Regions from separate parts of the Homo sapiens genome. Here regions 1, 3 and 4 are each linked to region 2. The links are contacts of gene promoters, found by promoter capture Hi-C in blood cells and fetal thymus (Javierre and others, 2016). All regions are on one chromosome and are shown on one strand. The core of a region is centred on a gene start or on the middle of the fragment in contact, and the rest is flanking DNA. Distances in the headings are between cores, read along the strand shown. Region 1 has its middle 6.6 kb from the start of DNMT3L. Region 2 holds the start of GATD3 (glutamine amidotransferase class 1 domain containing 3). Region 3 overlaps CFAP410 (cilia and flagella associated protein 410). Region 4 holds the start of AIRE (autoimmune regulator).

What was found. The method cuts DNA at HindIII sites, captures the fragments that hold promoters and counts their contacts. A CHiCAGO score of 5 or more calls a contact.
Region 1: a contact is called between a fragment that was not itself captured here and the fragment with the promoter of GATD3 in region 2, in 9 of 17 cell types (monocytes, M0 macrophages, total B cells and 6 more). The highest score is 10.9, in monocytes.
Region 3: a fragment that was not itself captured here is called in contact with the fragment with the promoter of GATD3 in region 2 in 17 of 17 cell types (naive B cells, total B cells, M1 macrophages and 14 more); the score reaches 14.0 in naive B cells.
Region 4: a contact is called between the fragment with the promoter of AIRE here and the fragment with the promoter of GATD3 in region 2, in 4 of 17 cell types (M1 macrophages, endothelial precursors, M2 macrophages and 1 more). The highest score is 7.6, in M1 macrophages.

The regions. Positions count from the first base shown.
Region 1 is chr21:44,265,274-44,271,733 of GRCh38, reverse strand. No RefSeq gene overlaps it. Among named protein-coding and RNA genes, the nearest start is that of DNMT3L, 6.6 kb to the right of the region's middle. RefSeq lists enhancers at 1-425, 4,439-5,068, 5,069-5,698. The HindIII fragment of the contact is 1,921 bases long and covers 3,269-5,189 here.
Region 2 is chr21:44,129,008-44,135,590 of GRCh38, reverse strand. It overlaps GATD3 (glutamine amidotransferase class 1 domain containing 3), which reads right to left and starts at 1,908. Exons shown (of 7, transcript NM_004649.8): 1 at 1,753-1,908; 2 at 1,437-1,489. The coding sequence starts at 1,893. It overlaps PWP2 (PWP2 small subunit processome component), which reads right to left. Exons shown (of 21, transcript NM_005049.3): 21 at 4,410-4,994. The coding sequence ends at 4,820. RefSeq lists enhancers at 825-1,352, 1,353-1,880, 1,881-2,408. The HindIII fragment of the contact is 13,325 bases long and covers 1-3,250 here.
Region 3 is chr21:44,335,478-44,338,778 of GRCh38, reverse strand. CFAP410 (cilia and flagella associated protein 410) reads left to right here. Exons shown (of 7, transcript NM_004928.3): 2 at 1,112-1,130; 3 at 2,975-3,021. Among named protein-coding and RNA genes, the nearest start is that of CFAP410, 2.3 kb to the left of the region's middle. RefSeq lists a silencer at 101-220. The HindIII fragment of the contact is 2,953 bases long and covers 575-3,301 here.
Region 4 is chr21:44,280,443-44,287,280 of GRCh38, reverse strand. AIRE (autoimmune regulator) reads right to left here and starts at 1,405. Exons shown (of 14, transcript NM_000383.4): 1 at 1,143-1,405; 2 at 550-724; 3 at 148-303. The coding sequence starts at 1,274. RefSeq lists enhancers at 1,926-2,527, 2,528-3,131, 3,132-3,733, 3,734-4,337, 4,754-4,833. The HindIII fragment of the contact is 40,453 bases long and covers 1-6,838 here.

The DNA.
Region 1 (6,460 bases), core at 2,980-5,479, 130 kb before region 2:
AATAGAGGAGAATGTGGCCTGGTTCGGGGCTGGAAGGGAGTCCCCTGAGATTAAGAGGGAGGACAAAAGAACGGAAACTACCCAAATGTCCCTCAGTGGGGGCAGGTGAGAGACCGGGCGTCCCTCTCCGCAGATAATGGGCCAGCCAGTAACGGGAAGCCGGGACCGAGGGCTCAGACTGCGTGGGGTCCAGCGTGCCACTGTTTAATCTGTAAGCATAAGCGTGGCTTCAGTTGTAGACACATGCATAGATTCATTCTGATGTTAAAATAGGAACTAGGCCGGGCACAGTGACTCACACCTGTGATCCCAGCACTTTGGGAGGCTGAAGCGGGCAGATCATCTGAGGTCAGGAGTTCGAGACCAGCCTGGCCAACATGGTGAAACCCCGTCTCTACTAAAATTACAAAAATTAGCCGGGCATGGTGGCAGGTGCCTGTAATCCCAGCTACTCAGGAGGCTGAGGCAGGAGAATCGCTGGAACCCAGGAGGCGGAGGTTGCAGTGAGCCAAGACCGTGTCATTGCACTTCCAGCCTGGGCGACAGAGCAAGACTCCGTCTCAAAAAAAAAAAAAAGAGAAGAAAAGAAAAGAAAGAAAAGGGAAATAAAATATAATGGAAAAATATTCACAATACCAGTGAATACTCACTTTTTTTTTTTTTTTTGAGACAGAGTCTTGCTCTGTCCTACAGGCTGGAGTGCAGTGGTGCGATCTCAGCTCACTGCAACCTTTGCCTCCCAGGTTCAAACAATTCTCATGCCTCACCACACGAGTAGCTGGGATTACAAGCATGTGTCACCATGCCCGGCTAATTTTTGTATTTTTAGTGGAGACAGGGTTTTGCCATGTTGGTTAAGCTGGTCTCTAACTCCTGGGCCCGAGTATCTGCCCACCCAGGTGCTGGGATTATAGGCGTGAGCCACTGCACCCTGCTGTAAGTACTCAACATTTTTTAAAAAGAGGAAAGAGACTGGGCGCGGTGGCTCTCGCCTGTAATCCCAACACTTTGGGAGGCCAAGGTGGGGGGATCACCTGAGGTCAGGAGTTTGAGATCAGCCTGACCAACATGGAGAAACCCCATCTCTACTAAAAATACAAAAAATTAGCTGGGCATGGTGGTGCATGCCTGTAATTCCAGCTACTCGGGAGGCTGAGGCAGGAGAATCGCTTGAACTCGGGAGGTGGAGGTTGCGGTGAGCCGAGATCGTGCCATTGCACTCCAGCCTGGGCAGCAAGAACGAAACTCCGTCTCAAAAAAAAAAGAGGAAAGAGGCCGGGTACAGTGGCTCACGCCTGTAATCCCAGCACTTTGGCAGGCCGAGGCAGGCGGATCACCTGAGGTCAGGAGTTCGAGACCAGCCTCAACATGGAGAAACTCCGTCTCTACTAAAAGAAATACAAAATTAGCCAGGCGTGGTGGTGCATGCCTGTAATCCCAGCTACTTGGGAGGCTGAGGCAGGAGAATTGCTTGAACCTGGGAGGCGGAAGTTGTAGTGAGCCGAGATCACGCCATTGCACTCCAGCCTGGGCAACGAGAGCTAAACTCCGTCTCAAAAAAAAAAAAAAAAAGAAAGAGGAAAGAAATGGAAAGATACATCATGTTCCTAGATTTAACTTTTTTTTTTTTTTTTTGGCAAGGTCTCACTCTGTCACCCAGGCTGGAGTGCAGTGGTGAGACCACGGCTCACTGCAGCCTCGAACTCCTAGACTCAGTGATCCTCCCACCTCATTTTGGGTAGAGATGGGGTCTTGCTATGTTGCCCAAGCTGGTCTCCAACTCTTGGCCTCAAGAAATCCTTCAGCTCAGCCTCCTAAAGCACTGGGATTACAGGTGTGAGCCCCTGTGTGTGCCTGGATTTAATTTTTTTTTTTTTTTTGAGACGAAGTTTTGCTCTTGTTGCCCAGGCTGGAGTGCAATGGCGCAATCTTGGCTCACTGCAACCTCTGCCTCCCAGGTTCAAGCAATTCTTCTGCCTCAGCCTCTCAGGTAACTGGGACTACAGGTGCCCACCACCACGCCCAGCTAATTTTTGTATTTTTAGTAGAGATGGGGTTTCACCACGTTGGCCAGGCTGGTCTCAAACTCCTGACCTCAGGTGATCCATCTGCCTCGGCTTCCCAAAATGCTCAGATTACATGCGTGAGCCACGGTGCCCGGCCTGGATTTAACTTCTTAATAGTATTTTTACAAGTCAGTTCTTCCTTAATTAGTGTGTAAATCTAATACCATTCATTCCAATCAAATTACCAATGGGATTTTTCAAAGAACTTGATTTAATGTTCTTGTGGAAGGTGAGTGAACACGAGACAAGACACTTCTGAAGACTGTCACACGGCGCGGGGTGTTTAAACATGGTATAAAGCTACAGCCAGCGTGGCAGGAGCTCCAAGGCAGAAACTGACACACCCCTGGAGAGAAATGCAAAGCCTGAGACCCAGGCACTCAGAGAGGCAGGTGATTGACACACGGTTTTGAATGCATCAGGGAATGGAGGGCGTATTCAAAAGTGATCTTGAGAGAACTGGATAGTAATTCGCAAAAGCCATGGCAAACACTAAAATTATTCCAATTAGAATTAATACATAAAATGACTTAAATGAAGACATGAAATGATGAAATGGAAAAAATGAAATAAAATATCCAAAGAAAATAAAGGTGCATGCTTATACCATCTTGGGGTGAAGAGGAACTTTTTAAATATGTTAGGAAGAATGGAAATCTAAAAAAAGACTCGTAGACAGGGCCAAGCGCAGTGGCTCACACCTGTAATCCCAGCACTTTGGTAGGCCGAGGTGGGCAGATCACGAGGTCAGGAGTTGGAGACCAGCCTGACCAACATGGTGAAACCCTGTCTCTACTAAAAATACAAAAAAAAAACCAGCTTGGCATGGTGGCACGTGCCGGGAATCCCAGCTACTCGGGAGGCTGAGCCAGGAGAACTGCTTGAACCCAGGAGGCGGATGTTGCAGTGAGCAGAGATCATGCCATTGCACTCTATCCTGGGCAACAGAGCGGGACTCCTTCTCAAAAAAAAAAAAAAAGACTCATGGACCTGACTAAATGATAATGTAATATGCTTGCATAGAAAAATGCCATTAAACATTAAAATAGATTAACAAGCTGAAGAAAATATTTGTGACTTATGTATACGAGGATTATATGAGTCAATATCTTTAATATATAAAGAGGCTTTCAAATTAATAAGAAAAAAACAAGCAAGGGTTACAAAGAAAATGAAAGGAACAGAGAAGAGAGACTTAAGCTTTGCCAGAGATTTCATGTCATAGTTCAGTAGCATTGGGGGCTGCACAATCCAGCACCATTTCACTGTTCCCACTTTGCAGCTTTTGAATATTGAGCTATGAAAGTATGTGACATATGCGAACATCATAAAACTCGTGTTTTCCAGAACACAATTTCGTACATGGCTTTTATAAATGTACCATAAAGGAAATTTCCTTTACTTAGTAGGTTTGGGGGAAATGGTGGATAATTTAACGGGTGAAGCAGATGTAGTATTTCGGGATTCTCAGACTCTAATACAAAGGTGCCAACTGTGACCACAGCGTGTCCCTGACTATCTGACCGTGTTCACCGTGGCAGCTCTGGACCGGGCTCGGCTAGGAGCGCTGTGGTTCTTCAATGGGGAGCCTCAGTGAACCCCAACTATGGCCCGGGAAGAGGCTTCACGCACCCCTTTCAGCCAGGAGAGGGGGATATTCGGTCATTTTTGTGGGTGGCCCCGGGACCTTGTTTTTGTGGGAGCCACGATTTGGAAGTGGCCTTATTTTTTCACTCGTTTTATTATTGTCCCGAACAGCCTTGTCTGAGGCCTGCTCTGTGAGGCTGCTGACGTCTGCAGGAGAGAACCAGGACCTCACTGTGGGCGCTGGGCCCACTCCCAGGCTTGTCTTTCTCAATATTAAAGCATCAGCTTCATCCAAGGTTGAGAGAGCCGCAGGCCTGGGTGTGGCGCTGGAGAGCAGTCTGGGGACCCATGGGCCCTGGGGCGCCTTGCAGTCCTCTCTAGATCAGGAGACGCAAGAGCTCACGCCACCTCTAACTCCAGCGGCACTTTGTCTTCAGGAGAAAAATGAATGTTTGCTCATTCGTTCATTCACTCCACAAACACAAAACGTATCACCCCCCACCCCACTACAGCTGTGACTCGATGTGGCCACTGAATGTGGAGGGGTCACCACGTCCCCTTCGCCTGCCGTGATCACCACCTCAGTCTGCCCCTCAGAGGCCCAAGGACATGAGTGTGTCTCCAGATGCTGGGCTTTGGCTCCTGCTGTCTATAGATTGATCAAGCAGAGGTGAGACAGTGTCTTCCGCACCATGGGCTGGAGGGCAGAGGGCACACGGTATGGGGTCCCCGGGGCTCCCCAGCCCCCAGCGGGCCATCGGCGCCAGTCCTCGCACTATCACGGGCTCCTGGAGAGAAGATGGTTTGCACGGTCTTCCCACTTCTGGAGTGCGATTTCCCACATGGGTGTTTTCTGAAAGTTTCCCGTGCCATTTATAAATGCACCATCAAGGGAAGGCTCTCTGCAGAAGCAGCTTTGGAAGAGATGGGGGCTTCCATTGATTAAGGGTGTCTGTCCTATGTGCTTCTCAGAAACTTCACGCAGGGATGTAAATCACAACCCTCCAAGCAGGTGAGGGGCAGACAGTGTGTCCCAAACAATCTGACTATGCACCCTGTTCCCAAGCACACTCATGACAGTGCCTTCTGGAGGGTGGGAGAAGCGGCAGCCCCTGCTGGGGTCCAGTGCATTGGCCATCAGGTCTGGGTGAGGCTTCAGTGACCACCCCCAGGCTCCTGGGGCTTCCACAGTGGAGGCTGCCATCCTGTCCTTTCTTCCTGACCCTCATGGCCCTGGCTGTATGTGGCCACCCCGGGTCCAGCTGGGCCCAGGCCAAGGCCAGGTTGAGTCACAGGGGCCTTTCCAGACCCCTAGGGTCAACAGCATCAGAAATCATCGTGTAGGCTGGGCTTAGTGGCTCACGCTTGTAATCCCAGCACTTTGGGAGGCCGAGGCGGGTGGATCACGAGGTCAGGAGATCGAGACCATACTGGCTAACACGGTGAAACCCCGTCTCTACTAAAAATACAAAAAAATTATCCAGGCGTGGTGGCGGGCGCCTGTAGTCCCAGCTACTTGGGAGAATGTCGTAAGCTTGCAGTGAGTGGAGATGCGCCACTGCACTCCAGCCTGGGTGATAGAGTGAGACTCCGTCTCAAAAAAAAAAAAAAGAGAAATCAATGTGTAGTGAGCTGTGGGTCACCCCATCAAGCCAGCACACGGGTGGCTTCCAGGCTGGAGAGGACATGGGAGCTCATGCAGAAGGAAGACTCCAGATGCATCCATGAGTGCCAGGAAGGGGCAGCCACACAGCGGGGACTGTGCTCCACCAGCCCCCGTAGCCCTGCTTGGGGAGCTTTAAGGCCCACCCTGCCACGTTTGCGTCCTTGGGGCTTTCTGGGGCATGGAGAGTGAGGCCAGAGGTCCCCCAGTGACCAGCACCTGTGGTCCGCATGCTGGTGGGTATATCACAGGGGCCGATGCCAGTGGTGGCCTCAGGGACTGAGCTCCCAGAGAGCTCCCCATGAGAGGCCAGCTTTTCTGGGGCCCATCTGTAGAGCACCGGGCCTCTCTCCTGCTGAGACCGCTCTGGTCTCTGCTGAGCAGCAGTGGGGTGCACGGGGACTGGGGGCTCTGATGGATGCGAGGGGCTTCCTGTCCTGTGGCCTACGCCAGGGCACCCGCCCTGGACAGAACCTTCCTTTACTGCAGGAGGTTCTGGGGTGTGAAGTTAGAAAACTGCCCTTCCGGAAGCCGGGCGCAGTGGCTCACACCTGTAATCCCAGCACCTTGGGAGGCCGAGGCAGGCGGGTTACCTGAGGTCAGGAGGTCGAGACCAGCCTGGCCAACAGGGTGAAACCCCGTCTCTACTAAAAATACAAAAAATGCTGGGTGTGGTGGCATGCACCTGTAATCCCAGATACTAGGGAGGCTGAGGCAAGAGAGTTGCTTGAACCCGGGAGGCGGAGGTTGCAGTGAGCTGAAATTGCTACTGTACTCCAGCCTGGGCCACAGAGCGAGACTCTATCTCCAAAAAAAAAAAAAAAAAGAAAAGAAAAGAAAAAAAGAAAAAAGAAAACTGCCCTTCCAGGATAACTTGAGGTCAGGAGTTCGAGACCAGACTGGCCAACATAGTGAACCCCGTCTCCACTAAAAATACAAAAATTAGCCAGGCAGCCGGGGCGAGGTGGCTCACACCTGTAATCCCAGCACTTTGAGAGGCTGAGGCGGGTGGATCATGAAGTCAGGAGTTTGAGACCAGCCTGGCCAACATGGTGAAATCTTGTCTCTACTAAAAATACAAAAATTAGCCATGCGTGGTAGTGCACGCCTGTAACCCCAGCTACTCGGGAGGCTGAGGCAGGAG
Region 2 (6,583 bases), core at 659-3,158:
CGGTCACTACTTAGTTCAATTTCTAGTCTCCCTCAACTTTCCCATCACAGATGGTGGGAGAGACACAAGAGACCCCAGGACAACACCACAGGCCAGGCAGCTCCATCTCCCCAAGGGCAAGGGCAACAGAAGCTCCTCCTGGGGACAACAGCTGACATTATGGGGGCTCACGCTGGCATCCGCAACTCCCAGTGCCAACAGGAGATAGGTGGCTAAGCCCACCCACACACTAAGCCCTCACTGCCCCTTACGTGGAGGAGGAAACCGAGGCATGAAGTGCAGTGACTTGCCAGAGGGAGAGGTCAGCACCTGGCCCTGGCACTTGGGTTCCGCTACCCATAAGAAATCCACCCAGACACCCCAGACACAAGACCCTGCCGTTCTGCCTGGGAGGGCTCAAGCTATTCTGGGGCTATTTTCTATCCCACCAAGGCCAAATCATGAAACACATCCTGGCCCTTTCCCCCAGCTCACTCTGCCTAGTGCCAACTCCAACCAGCCAAGGTGGGCCACCCACAAAGCCACCAGCCTCAGGCCACTCTCCATGGCCTGACACCCCTTTCGCCACCACCCAGCTCTCCCCTCTCCAGTTCACCCTGAACCACATGGGAACTACAGGTACCTGGCACGCGTGGTGGCCTCCTGCCCTACTGGTTCGGCCTGCAGTCATTTCCAGTAGCACAGGAAATCAGGCCACCAAGCACTCAGCAACAGCTGACCAGTTACGTAAACAGTAACCTGTCTAGGACCCAGAAATACCACGCAACTGTTAAAATGATGTTGAGAACTGAATGAATGGGAATTACTTCCCATGCGTCAGAAACATTTGCAAAACACGGGTGAGTGTGATCTCAGTGTTTTCAAAATGTGTGTGTCCTGAAAAACACTCAAGTGAAATGCTAAGTCATTTCTAGGCTCTAGGTGACAGCATAAGCGACACTTAAAAACTGTTCTTTCTTAGCGTCTCCCTGGGTTTTGCAAGTCGTTTTTGCTTTTTTTTAGCCAAGAATAGGGTATTTAAAATACAAGCTCTCTCGGCCGGGTGCAGTGGCTCATGCCTGTAATCCCAGCACTTTGGGAGGCCAAAGCGGGAGGATCACTTGAGGTCAGGAGTTTGAGACCAGCCTGGCCAACATGGTGAAACTCCGTATCTACCAAAAATACACAAATTAGTTGGGTGTGGTGGTGCATGCTTGTAGTCCCAGCTACTCGGAAGGCTGAGGCAGGAGAATCGCTTGAACCCAGGAGGCGGAGGCCGCAGTGAGCCAAGATCGCGCCATTGCACTCCAGACTGGGCGCTGTCTCAAAAGACAAAAAGTAAAAATAAAATAAAATACATGCTTTCTCTAAGCTGTTCAAAAAAGAGTAAACTTCACTGGTGGAGAGGCCTTCTCGAGGCCCCCGGGGTGGAGGACCAGCTGCCCCTGAGGACTTACGCCGAGGCCTCGTGGATCTCGGTCCCATCGTAGACTCCGCATCCAGACAGCACCTGCGAGAGGAGCGGGAGCTGACCCGGGGGAAAGGGGCCGACCTGGGCGGCGGGAGTTGACTGGGGGGAAAGGGGCCGACCTGGGCCGCGGGCGCTGACCCGGGAAAATGGGGCCGACCTGGGCCGCAGGAGCTGACTTGGGGTGAAGGAGCCGACGTGGGGCGGCGGGAGCGGACCTAGGAAGAGGGGCCGACCTTGGGCAGAGAACAGCGAAGGCTGATCTCTGGAGGCGGGAGCTGACCTCACCCCCTCCGTCCACTCACCAGCGCGACCCTGGCCGCGGGGCGCGGCACGGAGAGGTGAAGGGCTGCGCGCTGGGAAGGCGTCCGACCGCCGGGGGACAGGGACGTGAATGCAGATGCCGCAGCGAGCCTCGAGGCCACCAGGACCCTCACAGCCGCCATTGCGGTGAGGACAGCGGGGTCGGAAGGTCACGCAGGGACAGAGCGTGCGCACCCACCCCTCTACAAACGCGTTGCTCGTCGGGACTGCGCCTGCGCAGCCTTCTGGGCGGAGCCAAGACCCGCCCCCGTCTCAGCCCTATCCAGTGAGTTCGCCGGTGGGCGGGGGCCGCGCCTGCGCAGAGCCTCCGAATAGAGTTCCGGGAACCCTGTCTTCCTTCCGGTGGTGGCTGAGGGCTCGTGCTCGAGGCTGAGGGATGCTGGTGACTCCCGGGGTCCCCAGCCCCGCCCCCATCGGACGCCTCCACAGGCGGCGCACCCTTTCCGCCATCCGCAGAGCAAGGCTGCCTCGGGGCGGCTCAGTCCGGCGCTTCTTACCTTACCTCCGTCTCATCCTTAACTCACCACGAGCGTCCAGGGTCCACATCCTCCTAAATGGCCACTCGTCTTAATCTCGGCGTCAGGACCCACGCGGGGTCAGGACTACCCCTCCGCTTCCATGACTGTCTCCTCGCGGCTCCGGCTCCCACGGAGCGACCCCTCCGGGTTTTACTGACCCCGGGATGTTGTATCCTGGAAACTGCAGTTCCACCCAGGGGCTTGATCTGGGTTAGTCTGGGGGCAAGTGAGCCGCCGATTCTGTTTGGGTTTTTTTTTTTTTTTTTTTGAGACGGAGTTTCCCTCTTGTTGCCCGGGCTGGAGTGCAATGGCGCGAAGTCGGCTCAACGCAACCTCCGCCTCCCAGGTTCAAGCGACTCTTCTGCCTCAGCCTCCCAAGTAGCTGGGACTACAGGCATGCGCCACCACGCCAGGCTAATTTTGTATTTTTAGTAGAGACGGGGTTTCTCCATGTTGGTCTGGCTGGTCTTGAACTCCCGAGCTCAGGTGATCTGCCCGCCTCGGACTCCCAAAGTGCTGGGATTACAGGCGTGAGCCACCATTCCCGGGCGCTGTTTGGGTTTGTTTTTTTGTTTTTGTTTTTTACGTTCACAGCATGGACGGTCAGTGTGAAGATCCCAGCTGCTCGGGTCCTAGCTGGAATTCTTCCATTAAAAAAATCTGTTTGTTATGCATGGGTTAGTTCACAGAGGAATAGCTGGATAAGTGCTGGCTTTTTCCCCGATTTACCCATTTTCAACCTAATAATGCAGGTTTTTGAAATAATGTGAATGGTTACTGCTGGCGGATGTTCACAGGGACACACCGGATTCTACAGACACATCTGATGATCTAGCCACGGCTGTCACTTTCCCCACTGCCGCGTTGTCCATCACTAGGACTTTACTGCCAATCCTTGCAAGATAGTGGGGAACTAGAATAACAGACATGGGACATTACCAGTTACAACCAAAGACAAGCTTGGCACATTTGACTGTCCTCGTTCCTGCTCCTCCGTGCCTGGCCCTCTTCAGGCTTCTCAGCTCCTGGGGAGCGGCCAGCCAGGGAGCATCAGCTGGTGGGAGCGATGGGGTTGTGGGATGGCACAAAAAAACACCAAGCGCCACTCAGAAAGGAAATGCCGAATGCAGACTCTCACTCAGTCGGTGTGGGGGCCAGGACCCTGTCTCTACCAAGTGTGCGGGAGCTGCCCCTGGCCGGGAGCTCCCAGACCCCACTGCAGAGCCGCAGCTCCAGTTGTCCCAGGGGCGACTACTCAGGTGTCCATCGCCATGCACATGTGACACAGAAAAGGGTGAGGCGAGGAGGGGGAACGCTGGAAATTGTTTCACGGAAAAGGGCGAGGCAAGGGAGGGGAACACTGGAACTTGTGCTTTGGGTAGGCGATAGCTAAGGATTCTCTCTCGTCTGGGTCACGGAGATTGTGCAGCCACAGAACACCTGGTGTCATCAGGGCCTGAGCTCCTCCCTTCTACAAAGACCTCTGGTCTGCAGGCCTGCAGGTACAGTGCTGTGGGCCACAAGGCACTGCCTGTCGTATTCATCTCCACTCTCTAGCACATCTGGCCTCACGCCACCCCCGGGAGGCCGGCAGGCAGATATCAGCTCCACTTCCCAGATAAGCAAGGGAGCCAGGTACTACCCAGGGTCTTGGGGGCCACACCGCTGGCGAGGGACAGGCTGGGCCTGGCAGACAGCACTGGCAGTCGGTGAAGTGCCCACCTCAGTGTCAGCCTCAGGTCCTGACCCTGGAGGCTGCTGTTACTGAGCTGTGGGGACCAGGATGCCCTACCATGATGGAGACCCAAGCCTCTCTCATGATGACTATTCCCAAGGGCACTGCAGAGGGGAGGAGCTGTCTCCTCCTCCGTGTGGCCCACGCAGAGCTGGTGCAGGTCTGAGTGAGCTCACCAAGACAGGCCAATCCCAGCCCCAGACTCCAAAGCATCCCCAAGAGGTCAGGGAGAGGCTCTGTGCCCCTGACCCCAAGGATATGCACAGGTCACAAGGCAGAGCCCCCGCTAGACAGCAGGAGCACCCTGCTCTGTCAGCCTGCTTCCCCAGGACGGAGGCCCTGGTGGTAAGGCAGGCAGGTCTTGAGCCCCCACAAGACAGCAGGATACAACATAACCCTTTTTAATCTGAAGTGTAGACTTCATCCTCACGTTAGAAAACTCCATCTTTTTTTTAATCCCTAAGTTCTTTATCAAACCTTTATGTTAAAGATATAAATAAGTCTCATACAAAGTTCATGTGAATACCTCTCTGAGACGCATTTTCAACATTCATCACCGTTCACACGGCCCCGCTCCTGGGGCCAGGTGCCAGTGCGTGCCGGCCCCTGGCGTGACCCGTCGGCTCGCTGTCCTGATGGGCTACATGTGTGCACAGGAAAAGCAAGTCACTACCACTAGTGACAGTATTTCAGCTGTTCTCTGGACCCCTCCTCTTTGCTGGCCCAGGTGGCACAAGGGTCCCATCTCCCTGGCAGGTCTTAGCCGGCACAATCCAACGCTGCAACCGGCTGGCTCTAGGCCAGCATCTCTTCTTCTGAGTCTCTGCCTCCTCCTCCAAGCAGATGCAGGCTGTCATCTTCAGATGCTTCTGCCTCCTCCTCACTTCCCAGCGGGTCTAGGGAGCGTTTTGTGCCCCGCTGCTTGGAAACTGCTAGTGCGTACTGCATGTTATAGTGGTTCCAGCTACAGCTGTCAATCACACAGGGATGGTCAATGCCAGCAACGCCCAGGCCCTGGCCTGTCCTGCACCCAACCACCTCCTCTGTGACCCCTGAGAAAAGCAGCAGGGGCTGGACATGCCGGTTCCTCCACCCCAGCAGCCATTTTTTTCCTCTTTTCCCTGCCCCAACAATCTGGTTCTGCCCCATCCAGCCCTGGGGCAGCAAAGGCCTTCAAGGACCCAAGGACCCAACTGTAACATCCCATCCCTTTGGGGTCATCCTGGCAGCTCAGCCCTTCCGCTGGGCCCAATCTAGATGGCTTCACCAGCAAGTTCCACCAAACACTTAGGAAGAGACCGCTGCAGAGCTATGTGGTGTTGTGGAGCGAGAGGGGAGGAAGGCACGCTCTGAATCAGTTAATTTTCTGAGTTAATGGAATAAAGGAGAAAAGTGATGCCACCATCACTTTACATAGGAAAGGAGAACTGAAAGATAAATGGATGAGAAAGGAAGGAAGCGCCCCATCGCATCTGCAGGGCACAGGACCCTCTGTGCAGGACTCTTCCTGACAGCCAATGGCAACCCTACAGATTGGCAGTGAACGCCTAGACAGGAGGTCCAAGGAACAATGCACTTACGTGAACTCTAAAAACATCCCATAAGAGGGAATAAATCTAAAGGAGCTGGGCCGGGTATGGTGGCTCATACCTATAATCCCAGCACTTTGTTTGAGAGGCAGAGGCAGGCAGATCACCTGAGGTCAGGAGTTTCAGACCAGCCTGGCCAACAAGGTGAAACCCTGTCTCTACTAAAAATACAAAAATTAGCTGGGGGTGGTGGCGTGTGCCTGTAACCACAGCTACTTGGGAGGCTGAGGCAGGAGAATTGCTTGAACCTGGGAGGCAGAGGTTGCAATGTGCCGAGATCACGCCACTGCACTCCAGCCTAAGCAACAGAGCGAGACTTCATCTCAAATAATAATAATAATAATAATGAATTAAAAAATAAATAAATACATAAATAAGGGAGCTAGACAACCCTCCTCCCCTACAGAGCTCTGTGAAAAGTCCAGGACATCTCAGCCGAGGGAAGGCCTGGCACCAAAACTGTGGATCAGGGCACATCCCAGCCTTCTGTAGGGCACCCAGAACACGAGGGGAGGACAGGCTCGACCTGGACTCCAGGACTCTTTCCAAAGACTGAGTGACACTTCAAGGACAGACAGGAGGACCACATGAACCCACAAGGCCCAAACTCAGGCTCTGCCCCTGAACCCTGGACAGAGCAACTCGCAAACAGGACAGAGAACAGACCGTTCAGAAACGCAGCTGGGAAACCCGGCAACTGATTGGCAACAGAGGGTGATATCCCTCACATGGCTACTCTGAGGCCTGCCTAGTCCCGGCTCTGCAGGACCTTTAGGGAAGGTGAATTGGTAGGGACAAAAAAGGCACAAACCACAAAGAAATGACAGGAGAAGAGGCGGGCACCCCTGCAGAGTGAGCACTGCGGAGGGCCAGGCCCTGTCCTAGGCCCGCGGATGAATCCTCGCAGCAGCAGCAACAGCACCCTTTTCTAGGGGAGCCACAGCTCAGGGCAGCCACACCTCCAGGACTC
Region 3 (3,301 bases), core at 802-3,301, 200 kb before region 2:
GCGGGGCGGGGCGGGGGCGGAGTGGAAGGGGGGAGGGGCAGGGGCGAGGGCGGCGAAGGAGCCGCGGGTGAGGGAGGGGAGGAGGCCGGGGGTCGGGGTCGCCTGGGCCCCCCCCCATTTCCCGGCCCGCCTTTGCCCCGGGTGCCCTGTGGGCTGGGTCTGTTGTCTGGGGTTGCCAGCAGTCACTGGGACCAAGTCGAATAGGAGAGAGAACTGAGCTTTCCAGGACTGAGTCAGGAAACACGTTGGTAATCAGTACTGGGGGCGGCCGTTCCCAGGGTACTCCTAGCAGGTGACAGGAAGGGACGTGGGTGCGGTGGGACCCAGGCAGGCTGAAAGGCAGGTAATGCTGAGTCTCACTGAGCCAAGGAAGACCAGGAGCTTCCAGAAGAGGGAGCCTGGAGTTGAGGCCTGCAAGATCTCCAGGGTTCCCTGGGGACTCAGCAGAGTGACCGCGCCGTGTCAACTGGCCTCACCGTGCAGGCGGGTGTGGGGGTCAGCGAGAGCAGACGCTTCCTCCCAGGGGTGTCCGCAGACTGCCCAGAGTGAGCTCTTCCCTGTTAATTAAAAAGCTTTTCTCTCTGCCCTGGCATATCTGGTGTTTTGGCTACAATTCCCGTGTCATTTGCTTTCAATAATGCATTTCTTTGTTTTGCATGGGGTGGTCAGTACTCCCACTAAGCTGGGAGAAACAACAACCCTGTTTCAGGCTTTTAAAGTTTGCTTCATAAGTTGCCTGTTCACCCTTTGAACTTGACCTCTTATAAAGACGCCCTTGTTTATGTCTGTCAGTGAGAGAAATGAACCTTCTGCTACTCAGGGACCATGAGGAAGAGTTCATCTTTTTGTGTCTTACAAATGGAGCAACCCTGCTGCTCCTTATCTAAAAAGTACCACCCCAACGTCAAACATACAGTTTAGTTGAAAATCAGCTAAAACAATTGTTTACACCTTTGCCAGTTATCTGGGCAACCTTCCTTTTTTGCCATGCCATTAAAATCCTAGAATCTTAAGGTTTGTAGGGAGTCATCGGTGATTTTTGGAATTTTTGTCTTCAGTGTTTTTTATTCAACTTTAACAAAATTAAAGTATGTATCTTTTCTCTCCCCAGGGGCAGCCGCCTCACAGATGTAAGTATTGCCTCACAGATGTAAGTATTGCACTGATCATCTCCAAATAGCCTCAACCCAAATGTTGTAGCTTCTTTCCCAAGAGAATTTTTAAGTTGACAAAACTGCACCTATCAATTCAGTCCCACACTTGGTACTTTGTTCACTTAGCGGTTTTCATTCTGCAGAACCACTAATGGAAAAACAATTCTCTAGTGCCAGGCTTATTTTGCAGTTCCCGTCAACATCCCTATAAATGAAACACCCTTTGTCACTTGGTCGCAGAGGAGGGGAGCAATAGTTTGGAACTTGCTCTCACCTGGAAAGGAATCCCAGGAGGGCTTGTTTTACTTTGTTACGGGGAAGTTGAAGGTCTACACCCCCTCTTCTTGGTCACATCTAGCCTTGTACCCCCTTGCCGCTGCCCCAAAGGCAGGCAGAGAATAAGCCCTGCTGGGAGAACTTGAGTGTGTGCGTCTGTGAAAGATTTTTTTCTTCTCTCCCTCATTGTCTTTCTCAGTCCAAAATGTCCCCAACTTACACAGGGATCGCATACCAATTGTTTCTTTCTTTTTTTTTTTTTTTTACACGGAGTCTCTCTCTGTTGCCCAGGCTGGAGTACAGTGGCACGATCTTGGCTCACTGCAACCTCTGCCTCCCGGGTTCAAGCAATTTTCCTGCCTCAGCCTTTGAGTAGCTGGGACTACAGGCACCCACCACCATGCCTGGCTAATTTTTGTACTTTTTAGTAGAGATGGAGTTTCACTGTGTCGGCCAGGCTGGTCTCAAACCCCCTGAGTTCAGGTGATCCACCTGCCTCAGCCTCGCAAAGTATTGGAATTACAGGTATGAGCCACCATGTCCAGCGCAATTATTTATCTCTTTATTTTCCTTTGTTTTTTTAATTTGAACTGTACCTTTTCTTAAAGACAAAAAAAAGCCTGGATACGTGGCATCTGGGTGTAATCTGTTTTGTGCTGTAACTGAAATACTGCATGTTTAGCAGTGAATATACAAACGTACCATGTCCATAGACACGAGTCACTTATACATGGGACGCATCTGACCAGGCTGTGAGCTGCTGGTGCCATGCCTGGCGTATGGTGGGCTCTCACATATGTGGGAGCTTTGCAGGTTGTGAGGCTTTGTGGACCACCCCGGGCACCTCACCCCTGAATTGACAGTACCAATGTGATCTGAGATCCAGTCTCAAGCCTGTCTTCCTTTTGGCCTAGACCTGTTATCAAGAAGGGATTTCCATCCTTTCCTTGCTTTCTATCCCTGCGTAGGGGACATTGGGGTCCCCTTACCTGATGTCCTTTGAGGGCATCTAAAGTAATGAATGCTCTGTCTCCACTGCTGGCAGCATCTGACAGCAACGATGCTGTCGTAAAATTTAATAAAGACAGAGTGCGTGCAAGGAGGAGCCTCACATTTCTCCTTCAGTCTGCGGGGCGTCTGGGCTGCAAGGTGGTGTCAGAGGAGAACCTGGCATACTCGTGGGCATTCATCCTGGGCACACTGGCTGAGCAGGGCCGCTCCCCTCAGGCCCTGGGCATTCACCCTGGGCACACTGGCTGAGCAGGGCCGCTCCCCTCAGGCCCTGGGCATTCACCCTGGGCACACTGGCTGAGCAGGGCCGCTCCCCTCAGGCCCTGGGCATTCACCCTGGGCACACTGGCTGAGCAGGGCCGCTCCCCTCAGGCCCTGGGCATTCACCCTGGGCACACTGGCTGAGTAAGGCCGTGCCCCTCAGGCCCCGGAAGTGGGTTGGCCGTGGCTTCGACAGTTCTCTGTGGCTGATGGCAGTGCGGCCGCGATGCCCTGCTGTGCCATGCTTGCTAGTCATGTTCTTTTCCTCCTAGATCTCCATTTGCCAGGAGATGCCCAGCCTGGAGGTGATCACGCTCAGGTACCTCGCTCCTGCTGTCATGCTCAGCCTGGGGCCTGGAAGCCGGGGCAGAGCCTCACGTCCCTCCAGTGGGACCCAGCACTGTGACATAACCTGGAAACCTCCAACACAGACTGAGGGCGGCTTCCAGAAGGGGAGGGGCCGGGACAGCGAGAGCTGGGCCTACCCTGTGGCCCCCATGTTCAGCCCTCCTTCCTCAGAGCCTCACCTGGGCCTCCTGATGGCTCCTGTCCCCTGCCTGCCCTGCTGTACGCCTGCCCACCCTTGGCCTGTGTGCTCC
Region 4 (6,838 bases), core at 156-2,655, 150 kb before region 2:
TCTAGTACCCAGAGGAGACCCCCACAGCCCCAGGCAGGCTGGCCCCACACCCAGTGGGTGGGAGCCCGGGTGGGGAGGGGGCGTGGGCTCCCGGGGAAGCCCGGGAAGACTGGAGACCCTGGCTGGCTTCCCCTGCAGGGAGGGTACCTGGGCTGGCGGTGCCCCTTGGAGTCAGGGCTGCTGGCGCGGCAGCTCGAGCCTCTTCTGAGGCCTTCCTCTTGGTGGGGAGTCTGGGTGGCGGTACCAAAGCCTTGGGGACGGCCGGGGGCTTCCTCCCCTTCCGGGGCTGGCTGAGGTCCACATCTGCAGCTCAGGGGCAGGAGCAGGGTCCCAACCTCAGGGTTTTCTCCAGGGGTAGGGTGGGCCCCAGAACTGGACACCTTGGCCAGACAGGTGAGGCCTGGCCCCTTTGCCTCTTAGGATCCAAGACGGTCCTGGAACATCACCCACGGGCTCCTCAAACACCACTCCGGTTCCAGTCCAGCTGGGCTGAGCAGGTGACAGCAGCTGCCCCAGGCCCCCAGCATGGCTGAGTCCACCAGGACCCACCTTTGGGGAAGCTGTCCAGGATGGGCTGCAGCCGGCCATAGCGCTCCAGGTTGTAGTCCTTGAACAGCACCCTCCAGAAGTCCAGGATGGCTGTGGAGTCCTGGGTCAGCAGCCAGGACAGGAGGGCGTGGAAGGCCTGGGGGCAGCCCTCCTTTTCCTTCAGATGAAGCGTCTCCTGCAGTGGGGTGGCATGAGGGTCCCTGCCATGGTCCCCCACACCCTGCGGCCTGCCCATCTCCATCATGACTAGAGGGTGGAGCTCCCAGGCAGAGGCGCTGGCGACCTGGACAGCTCCACGCCCATCTCCTCGGCTTGTGGTGGAGTCAGGTGGTGGTGTAGGGGTGTTGAGGGTGGGGCTGGGGGAACCTGGAGGCCATTCCCTTGGCTTGGGGGTGAGGTGTGGGGACGGCTGGGGGAAGGGGACCAACTTCTAACTTGTCATCAGGGACGCCCCTGGCTCCTTGTGGGGAGGGAGTTGGGGAAGGCTGGAGGGGCTTGGGGATCTGGAGGGGCGGGGTCCTCCTGGAACTTCCCCGGGGACTATCCCTGGCTCACAGGGCCTGGGGGCAGCGGGGGGCGGGCGGGGAGCCCACCTGAAACTTGTCCTCGGGGACCACGTCGTGGTCAGCCAGCGCGTGCAGCAGTGGGAAGGCGCTGTCCACGGCCACCGCGATCTCCGTGCGGTGCAGCCTCAGAAGCCGGCGTAGCGCCGCGTCCGTCGCCATGGGGTGGGCGCGGGGACCCGGGGCTGGGGCGGACGCGGTGGGTCCCGGGACACTGGCAGCCCCTCGCTTGGCCTCGGGTCCCGGCGGGGCTGTGGGGCCTCCGCGCCGGCTGTGCGCCCGCCCGTCTCCCCGGTCTGCGAGCCACGCGCGCCGCTGTTATACCCCCGCGACCACGCAAAGAGCAAAGGCCGCTCCGCCCCGGCGCCCAATCAGGGCCAGGGCCTCCCGCAGGGACACTTCCCTGTGATGGAGGCGCTGCTGTCCCTCCCTCGCTCTCGGGAAGTCTCCGGGCCTGGCCTGACTCACCCACCAGGGCAGCTGCCTTGGGGGCTGGGGACAGAGACTCGCTCTGTGCGGGACTCAGAGAACTCTCACTTCCGAATGTGGCCCTGTCCTGCCTCGGCGAGGGCCCTGCTCGAATGGGGCAAAGCCGAGACAGGTGCCCTCGGCGGGGAGGCTCGGGTCTCAGGGCCCTGGCAGGGGCTGCCCAGGGTGCACCGGCCCCTCCCAGTGGCCGGCAAGAGCCTCCATGGAGGCTGGATCGGGGTGGTGTTCCTGGGGGACCTCCACACAAGCTGAGAGCCCCTACTCAGGGGCCCGCCTGGGGCTGTGGGAGGAGCCCGATGGAGGCTCAGTCTGATGCAGGAGACGGTACGGCAGCCTGGGTGTTGCCAGGGAGCTCCTGACCTCACCATCTTAGGCTAGCTGTGTGACGCCAGGCAAGTCCTTTCCTTCTCTGAGCCTCGGTTCCCTCATCTTTAAAAGGGGCACACTCGCCTGGGGATTGAGGCTCGCATTGACCCCCTCCTTCCTTCCTCCAGGTGCTTTAGAAGGAAGGCGGCCAGCCCCACAACGGGGGTCCTGAGTGTGGCCCTGAGTGAGAGCTCCCAAAGGGTCTTCCTAGGACCAGTGACAGAGGCTGAGGGATGCTGTGGCCTGGACAGGAGCTTCCGGGGGCATCTGGGAAGGTGTCCGGGAGGGGAGCTGCAGTGGACAGGAGCCGAGGGTCCCAGGTGGACGTGAGTGGGGACAGTGCCCCCAGTAAAACAAGACCAGGTGCAGAGGCCTGGGGCCTGCAATGATGCTGAGGCTGTGGTGGCCCCGCAGGCATGGCCTGGAGGGGGGGTGGCCTCAGTGGGAGGCCTTGGTAACAGTCCCCTTGTCTGTGCGGTCAAGCCAGGGAAGCAGGCCCTGTGTGCAGGCTGCAGAGAACCACGAGAGGTCTCTGGGCACGAGTGTTCCCACTGAGCCAGAGAACGAGATGACCTGGCCAGCATGGATTAGGGCTGAAGGGTGGACGAAGGTACCAGGAAGCCTGAATCCAGGCAGCACTGGGCTGGGGGCTAACTGATGCAGTGAGAGACGCCACCAAGATTCCCACGTGGGCAGGCGTGCCGTTTGCTTTTGGGCAGCCAGAGTCCAGGATGGAGAGCGGCAGACACCTCTCCTCTAGACCAGGGGTCGGTCTCGGTTTCTCCTACCGCCTTCAGGCCCAGGGTCCCCCTGAGCGTTCTGCACGTCTGAGATTGCTCCGGAAAAGACTCTAGGGGTGTTTGGGAACAAACCTGGGGAGGAAGGTGGGGCCAGAGGTGGTGGCCGAGGTGGTCAGCCTGGGGTCAGGTGCTGGGGACGTCATGGGGAGCTGAGGGGGAGGGGGTCCATCTCAGTGGTGGCTGTGGAGTATCAGGCAGTGCAGGGTTGGAACAGGCTGGCTCCTGTGTGGAATGTCCTGGGAGCCTTGAGCGGGGAGCAGGGCCCTCTCGCTGCCCAGGCCTGGGCGTCTCTCACTCCCTGCACTGCGCCTTCCGAAGACCCCGAGAGGGAAGCCCCCTGCCTGCATGCCTGCCTTGCCGGTCCCCGCTCCAACAGACACATCCTGTCCCCAGCCAGGCCGGGCTGCTGCTCGCTGGGTTTCCTGCCCTCTCCCCTGCAGTTCTGTATTTACAGCAAAAATATTTAAATAACTGCAAGCGAAAGTTGCACAGAAGCCCAGCTTTGCACAGGATCCCTGTCTGCTCCTGAAACACCCCCATTCTCCTTGCTCATCCATGGGCAGGGGTCTCACGAAGGGAGAGCTCACTAACATCAAGTTCAATGGCAACCCTTGGGCCCACTGGCTGCACAGTTCATGCATAAAAGCCCCTGGGGTGCCAGGGAACCAGCGCACACAGCTTTGGGATGACCAGTAACCGTTGCTCCCAGCAACTTGGCTTTCCTCTCCTTTGAGGCTGTGGGGAAAAGAAAGAGAGATCAGATTGTTAATGTGTCTGCATAGAAAGTAGACATAAGAGACTCCATTTTAATCTGTAACCCTACCCCCAACCCTGTGCTCCCTGAGACATGTGCTGTGTCAACTCAGGGTTAAATGGATTAAGGGCTGTGCAGGGTGTGCTTTATTAAACAAATGCTTGAAGGCAGCATGCTCGTTAAGAGTCATCACCACTCCCTAATCTTAAGTACCCAGGGACACAAAACACTGCGGAAGGCCGCAGGGACCCCTGCCTAGGAAAGCCAGGTATTGTCCAAGGTTTCTCCCCATGTGATAGCCTGAGATATGGCCTCCTGGGAAGGGAAAGACCTGACCGTCCCCCAGCCCGACACCGTAAAGGGTCTGTGCTGAGGAGGATTAGTAAAAGTGGAAGGAACGCCTCGTTGCAGTTGAGACAAGAGGAAGGCATCTGTCTCCTGCCCGTCCCTGGGCAATGGAATGTCTCGGTATAAAACCCGATTGTATATTCCATCTACTGAGATAGGGGGAAACTGCCTTAGGGCTGGAGGTGGGACAAGCAGGCAGCAATACTGCTCCTTAAGGCATTGAGATGTTTATGTGTATACATATCTAAAGCACAGCACTTAATTCTTTACCTTGTTTATGATGCAGAGACCTTTGTTCACGTGCTTACCTGCTGACCTTCTCTCCACTATTATCCTATGATCCTGCCACATCCCCCTCTCCGAGAAACACCCAAAAATGATCAATAAATACTAAGGGAACTCAGAGGCCAGCGGGGGTCCTCCGTATGCTGAGCGCCGGTCCCCTGGTCCCCCAATTTCTTTCTCTATACTTTGTCTGTGTCTCTTTTCCAAGTCTCTCGTTCTACCTAACGAGAAACACCCACAGGTGTGGAGGGGCAACCCACCCCTTCAGAGGCCATCCTGCCCCAAAGTCACCCCCTGCAACCCGGTGGCTTTTCCCTCCCCAGATGGTTAAGTGAGTCAATGGATGCCTTAGCCCAGAGATGGTTAAAGGGGAATTAAAAACTGCAAAGCGAGATCCAAGTCTGCACTTCACTTTTTAAAAAAGACCTGCAGTCTTTGCGGGTCACCTGTGTCATTGGGCTGGGGCCTGACCCCTGTGGGCAGGCGTCACCCAGCCTCTTGCATGGAGGTTTAACAAAGAGGCCCCTGTAGAATTTCGGACTTTCCACCATGCCGTGGGGCTTTCCACACCAGCCCCTTGCCCGCAGGTGACATGGAGCCGCCACGGCTCCCTGGAGGTGGCACAGACCCCTGGAGGGGGGTGAGGGGCTGGGGACTCGGCCCTGTCTTCAGTGGGACTGATGCCTTTGTGGGACTGAGCCTCAGTTTCCCCAAGAGGCACCTGGGCAGCAGAGCTCTGGGACAGTATTGGGCTCCATCCCTGAGCCCCGTGTCCTCGGCTGGAGCGGGAGGGCCCCGCAGCCCTTTCTCCCACATCTGTGCTGTGCCCTTGGACGCCTGCGGACCTGCCATGCCCCGGGCTAGGCCCTGAGAGCTTTGTGATTCTGCTCACTCCATCAGCAGAACGGTCTCCTCAGGTCATCATCGTGATTAGTGCCATCCACAGATATGGAAACTGAGGCCTGTTGCCGGGAGGAGCTTGGCCAGAGTCACGCAGCTGCTAAGGGGCAGAACCACGACTCGGACCTTGATGCACGGAAGAACAGAGGTTCTCCAGGTCCATGCTCCTGCTGTGCCGGGTGCCCCTCAGGTGCCCAGGTCACGTCAGATGTTCTCAGCCTGCAAAGTGGGGGGACGCGGCCCATGTGATGTGTATAGAAGTTGGGAGGAGCCAGGTCCTAATGGCAGAGCAGGGAAGGGGCTGGAGGGGGCTCAGCCTTGGCCCCTCAAACAAGCCTGGACTCCATGCCTTCTCCCCTGCTCCAGATGGAGGTTCCATCCCCTGTGGCTCCCTGGAAGGGCCAGGCTCCCAGAGGCCAGGAGCCTGAGTCAGAAAGGCCTCGGGGAACATGGAGCCCTGGCCAGGCCTTGGCTCCTGGAGGCCCTGGGCCCTGCTCCTGCAGCCTGGCCAGGTGGTCTGGCATCAAGGGAGGGGTGGGTCCCCTCAGGACACTTTGTGAGGACCCCTAGCACCCTCCTGGCCACAGGCTTCCTCACTGGGCCTCAATTTCCTCACTGTAGAGAGGAAGTTGCCTCTACTTGTTGAGGGCGGGATGGCCATTCCACATGGTTGTCCAAGTCAGGGAGGCAGCTCCGAGCACCGGTGAGCTCAGAAGAACCCGTGCTCAGCCAAGGGCATTGGAGGGGGGACCCCCTGCCCCCTCCCCTCCTACTACTCTTGCCTCAAACCTGCCCCACTGGTTGGGCCTCAGTTTCCCTGGTCTGGCCTCTCCACTGCGTCCCACTGTGGGTATGTGTCCAGACGGCGTCACTTTTCTCAGTGAACTAGGGGAAGTGGTGCCAGATTTTTTTCTTCTTTTTTTTGAGACAGAGTCTCGCTCTGTCGCCCAGGCTGAAGTGCAGTGGCGCGATCTCGGCTCACTGCAAGCTCCGCCTCCCGGGTTCACGCCATTCTCCTGCCTCAGCCTCCCGAGTAGCTGGGACTACAGGCGCCCGCTACCACAGCAGGCTAATTTCTTTGTATTTTAGTAGAGACAGGGTTTCACTGTGTTAGCCAGGATGGTCTCGATCTCCTGACCTCATGATCCGCCCGCCTCGGCCTCCCAAAGTGCTGGGATTACAGGCGTGAGCCACGCACCCAGGCTTCTTTTTTGCAGAATTGACCATCTGCCTTGCGATCTTACCAAAAGGCCCAGCTGGTGGGCTGGGGCCCTCTCGGTGGACAAGCCCTGGGAGAACAGAGCTCTGCCCTCTGCCCCCTCCGCAGCCCACCAGCTATTAGCTGAATGTTGTTCTCCCCCCAGCATTCTTATGTTATAGCTTCACTCCCAAGGTGATAGTAGTAGGTGGTGGGACCTTTGGGAGGTCATTAGGTCGAAAGGACTCTGCCCTCAGGAACGGATTACTGACTGTATAAAAGGGGCCTAATGGCTGGGCACAGTGGCTCACACCTGTAAGCCCAGCACTTTGGGAGGCCAAGGTGGGCAGATCACCTGAGGTCAGGAGTTCAAGACCAGCCTGGCCAACATGGAGAAACCCCATCTTTAGTAAAAATACAAAAATTAGCCAGGAGTGGTGCGCACCTGTAATCCCAGCTACTCGGGAGGCTGAGGCAGGAGAATCACTTGACCCGGGAGGTGGAGGTTGCAGTGAGCCGAGATCACGCCACTGTACTCCAGCTGGGGCGATAGAGAAAGACTCTGTCTCAAAAAAAAGGAGGGGGG